Linked DNA regions of Homo sapiens: region 2 is linked to region 1. The links are contacts of gene promoters, found by promoter capture Hi-C in human tissues and cell types (Jung and others, 2019). All regions are on one chromosome and are shown on one strand. The core of a region is centred on a gene start or on the middle of the fragment in contact, and the rest is flanking DNA. Distances in the headings are between cores, read along the strand shown.

What was found. The method cuts DNA at HindIII sites, captures the fragments that hold promoters and counts their contacts. A contact is called where the count stands out against the background at its distance.
Region 2: a fragment that was not itself captured here is called in contact with the fragment with the promoter of OR2T8 in region 1 in 2 of the 25 tissues and cell types used here (mesendoderm cells and thymus).

Annotation. Positions count from the first base shown.
Region 1 is chr1:247,918,829-247,921,528 of GRCh38, reverse strand. It overlaps OR2T8 (olfactory receptor family 2 subfamily T member 8), which reads right to left and starts at 1,277. Exons shown (of 2, transcript NM_001005522.2): 1 at 1,011-1,277; 2 at 1-531. The coding sequence starts at 511. The HindIII fragment of the contact is 8,254 bases long and covers 1-2,700 here.
Region 2 is chr1:247,878,459-247,881,158 of GRCh38, reverse strand. It overlaps TRIM58 (tripartite motif containing 58), which reads right to left. Exons shown (of 6, transcript NM_015431.4): 6 at 1,021-2,700. Among named protein-coding and RNA genes, the nearest start is that of OR2W3, 16 kb to the left of the region's middle. The HindIII fragment of the contact is 3,492 bases long and covers 1-2,700 here.

The DNA of each region.
Region 1 (2,700 bases), core at 28-2,527:
CGTGTGCACCGCAATATGGGAAGCTCAGGGTAGCAACAGCCTGCAGGAGCCCGTCAGCTGCACCCAGGAGCCAACACGACAGGTTCATCCTCAGGCACAGCTGCCAGCTCATGAGAGTGGGATATCGGAGTGGGTGGCAGACAGCCGCATAGCGGTCATAGGCCATGGCTGCTAAGAGGAAGCACTCTCCACCACCCAGTGTGGGGAGGAAGAAGATCTGCGCACCACAGCCAGCGCGGGAGATGGCCTTACTTCCGGTCAAGTAGTCAGCCGCCATTTTGGGCACAGTGGTGGAAACCAGCATCACGTCCATGAGGGAAAGTTGGCTCAGGAGGAAGTACATGGGCGTGTGGAGCCGGTGGTCCCAGTGAATCAGGAGAATCATGAGGGAATTGCCAAACAGGGAGGTCAAAACGATACTCAGAACCATCATGAAGAGGACTTGGTGGGCTCTGGTGTGGTTAAAGAGTCCTAGGAGAATGAAATAAGAGGTATAGCTCCCATTTTCCATGATTTCAAATAAGAGTGACACTGCAAATGGAGAAAAAGAAGACAGAGTGTTTATCCTTTATGGTACTCCATTTGAGTTACGTAGTAAAAAAATAGAAAAGTACTTGTGTGAAAGCGATGAAACCTATGTCAAATCTTTCATTTGCCACTTGCAAAATGTTCTAATTTGTGCATAAAATTAATTAAACTTTTTCTCATTTCCAAGGATTTCATAATAAATGCTTCTCAGGCTAAGTATTGATTAATTTTATATCACAAATCCACGTTCTGGATAAGTTGCAAGTAACCTGTCAGAATGGTTTTGCTTTATCTGGTACCATCATAAGTGAGTGAGAATGAAATGATTCACATAATTTGTCACTTTATTTGTGCTTGAGTTACATCATGCATAGTCAATATTTTAGAAGCTGAATTAAGTCAGTATATTTCATTATATAAAACTACATCCTTGACTGTGAAGGTTGTGGGTCTATAACATATCAAAACTCATTGAAACCTACCAAAATCAGGCAGTTTTCCCTGACTTAATCCAAGAAGACTTTTTTTCCTTTCTAAAGAGGGTGACTTATATTCTCAGGTCTGGAAAGGCTGAGTCTGCAGATGAAAACATAGTTAATTTGGAGTTGTGAACACATTTAGTCCTCCTTTATAGGTGATAGACTGAAAACAGTACTGACCTTCTTGGATATTTTTTATTTCTTTGCAGTGTAAGAGTATAATGGTAAACACACATTTTCATTAACTGTACAAGGTACTTTGTTGCAATGAGACTTTTTCTCATCAGTCCACAAGTATAACCTTTACCAGGTAAAGGAGAAAAAAGAAAACTAAGATCTTTATCCAATCACAGAGATAAATTAATGTCTTCTTCAGTCTCAAGAGAAATGAAATCTTTATAGACATTTTCATCTTAGATCTGCTGGTGCAGGAAGTTTTCTACCTTGTTGAATAAATGTCGCCACACCTGCAGAGGTATTGATGCTGATTCAATCTCAAGGATATGGTCTAATTCAATAAAGTTATATGGCAGAAGGAGCCCATCTCTTCCATGCGCATTCCCTTTGCCTCCACTTTTTGTATCCACCCTAAACTAAAATGCCAGTCACGACTGGGAAAGGCAGTGCAGTTGCGTCAGTCAATACCAGAGTGCATTACTTGAGCATCATAATTGTACGGGCAGCACAATACCTGAGGGTTTTATTTGGTTGTTTAAAATTTAAACATCATGGAAATATACATATGTCCTTCTTGACAAATAAATTCTGCATTTGACAAAACTTTGTGATCTTCACACCTTCGTATCTCTAACATGCTCTATTTTTTTCTTTTTACTTCTTAGAAAATGCAATAACATGTACTTTCTACACGTAGGAACTATACAAAATCTCTAATTACAGCCCTTAGTGTCACTTTGCTGAAAGACCTCAAAACCCTCCTGACTCATTTCTTTCACTCGATATCTTCCATTTCTCCGTTTTCCCAACCTTCCTTAGTGTTGAAGCTTGATCAACTTTAAATATCTTTTAAAAAATCAGTCTGTAATGTCATAACTGTAGGGTGTTGGACAAGTTTCTTAAATTATTTTTTCTATCATATTAAATATTTTTAAGGCACAATCAGTACAGTGGCTTCAAGTATAATCATATTGTTGTATGACCATCCACAATATCCATCTATGAATCTCATTTCACCTCCCTAAATTGAAATTCTGTACCCACTGTGAAATAACTCCCCATTCTTCTCACACACAGCCCCCAGCAACCACCATTCTATTTTGTGTCTCTATAAATTTGAGTGTTTTAGAAACCTCATATAAATGGAATCATGTGGTATTGTGTGTGTGTGTGTGTGTGTGTGTGTGTGTGTGTGTCTGTGACTGGCTTATTTCACTTATCATAATGTCCTCAAGGTTCATCCCATGTGTCAGAATTTCCTTCCAAAGGGTGAATACTATTTCATTATCTGCATATATAACAGTTTGTTCAATTATCCAGTCATAGCCATTAACGTTGCTCCCACTCACTTCAGCTGTATGTTTAAGTATCATTTTAATGGAATGTTTCACGACAGATGTTAGTTTTTTTTATTTTGGTAAGGTAAACATATATAGCATAAAAATATAGCAATTGCAATTAATTAGCCGCTTAAATTGTGCCAGACTGGTTCATATGTTTTCAGAGAATAATCTCA
Region 2 (2,700 bases), core at 9-2,508, 40 kb after region 1:
ACTTCTTTGAATAAATTATCCACACTTCTGGATATGTAGACATAGTTCTGGAGGGTTATAGCTTAGAAAAGGCTAGAAGCTCATGTTGGGGATTGACTTTCTCTTTTAGTTTTCTATTTTTTAAGGGAGAGGGTCTCACTCTGTCACTCAGGCCAGAGTGCAGTGGCGTGATCCTGGCTCACTGCAGACTTGAAATCCTGGGCTCAAGCCATCTTCCCGCCTCAGCCTTCCAAGTGGCTGGGACTACAGGTTTGCACCACCATATCTGGCTAATTTGTATTTTTTTTGTAGGAACCAGGTCTTGCTTTGTTGCCCAGCTGGTCTCAAACTTCTGGTCTCGAGCAATCCTCCCACCGCAGTCTCCCCAAGTGTTGGGATTACAGGCATGAGCCACTGTGCTCTACCAGAGTTGATGTTCAAATTTTTATAGAGAACGAAAGAATTTCACTGGTAACTGTCAGAGCAGTCCTTAAGGATATGTCAGAAAGAAAAAAAATTATGATTTGAGATAGAAAAAATGCCAAATGTATATAACAGAAATGCACAGTAACAGGGAAGCGACGGGAAGGACAGCAGACCCAAGACACTCCATTTCTGGATGGCGTGGATGCACCATATCGTTTAGGTGAAGAAAGGCAACATAAAACATTAACATCAATTTTTTTTTTTAAAGGTTGTAGTCTATGTAAGTTTATAGAAAGTTCCCCATATTTTTAGTGATGATACCATTTTGAGAGGTGGCTTATGGAGTATGAGACAAAGCATAATTCAAAGGTGTCACTGTGATGTCACAGGGAATCAAAACCACAGGGGGCTCAATGGGACTAGGCCTGGACATGCCAAGTTATCAGGTCACAAAATCCATTATGTTTACAAACTTAAGACTTCTGCTCAATTTTTCTCTATATCCCCAAAATTTTACTAATTTAGCACTTGGCATTAAACATTATTGGCCAATAATAATAAATATTGTATCAGTAGACTATATTACATTTTGCAAAACATTTTCAGGTCCATCAATTTTGCTCTCCACATAGTCAATCATTTATTCATTCAACAAATACAGATTGAATGATAACCACATACAAACCAGCATTGGGGGTGCTTGAGAAACATTGAATGTATCATTGTCAACAGACAAAGATACCTCCCCTTGTGGTGTTTACATTTAGCACAAAAAGGCAAAACATACATAAATTAAATAAGCCTAACAATATAGTACGACGACACGTACTGTATGGGGAACAAAGAGCCTCCACTGAGCCTGGCAAGGGCGACTGGAAAGGTGAGCTCTAGATGGGCTCTGGGGGGAGTAGGGCTGTGTGGTATCACTGAGAAGCTGGATCTCAGAAGAGTTAAGGAAGAAAGGGAATAATGAGTCAAGGGGATATCAGGGAAAAGGGAATGTCAAGCAGAAGCCACAGGCGGGGAAATGGCCCTGTGATGGGAAGTGCCTGCTTTGGTGGAAACCCAGCCATGAGGCCAGGGCAGCTGGAGCAGAATGCAAAGGGAAGTGGGGGTGGGAGAGATAATCAGAGGAGGGATGGGGGTTCAGATCCTCTAGGGCCTGGGGGTTCACATCCTCTAGGGCCTGGGGATTCACTGTGAGGATTCTGACTTTCACTCTAAGTTGAATGGGAGGTCTTTGTGATGGTATCTAAGTCACTGTGATGCCAACATATCCTTGGGTGCTAAAGGAATCAGCCCAGCTGCTGTAGAGAGAATGGGAGTGGAAGGGCCTAGAGCCCAAGCAGGACCACTGTGAGGAAACGAAAGTCATAATCCAGAGGGGCAGGATGGAGTTCTGACCATGGTTACAGCAGCAGGGTGGCCAGGACAACTGAACCCCGGACATATTCTGAAGGTAGGACCAACAGGGCTTGCCGATGGACTGGATGTGGGCTGGAGAAATCAAGAAAGTACTCAATCGGATGCCTGGCTTAAGCAATCAAAAGAATGGAGTTGCCATCCAGTGACAGGGAGAAGCCTGTGGTTTTTGTTGTTGCAGTTAGGGAGAGACTTGGGGAGAAATTTGTGGGTAAGTTTTAGGCAAATTGAGTTCAAAATGTCTATTTTGATGTCAAGTGGACAGCTGAATATAAAAGACTACCATTCAGAGGAAAGGAGAGGGAAAGCCAGGAAACGGGTATGGATGTCGAGGATTTTGCTGGTAACGAAACAAAGTTCCAGAGGAAATAGTGGCAATCTTTCAGGAGTTGGAAAGGGAAAGAGAAGAGTCATTACAGGAGACACACAAAACTATGAACCTAAGAATGCAAGAGATGAAGACTCACATTGGTTTACTGACTGATATAAACCACAATAATATGCACAGTGAGACAGGATTCAGCAGAGACAGTGAGACCAGAGTACTGGGCTACACAGTGGGAAATGGATACTCCTGGGACTGGGACACTCATTCCATCCTATGGAGAGAGTAGAAGACATGTGGAGGTGTTCTCCCTCCCACCCAGGGCTTCCCCGTCTCACTGAATGGGTGGTGCCCCATGGAAGGGGTATCTCAAGCCACCCACCTGATCCCTGTGGGAAGGGATGCTGTTGCTGAGCTGAAGTCCACCTTCCCTACACAGACCTTGCATGAACGAGGGCTAGGGCACACATGGCCTGTGGAACACCAAGAAGAGGGACACGAGGATGCGTTATTTCCTCTGTTTGCAAATCTATCACAGAGAGTAGAAG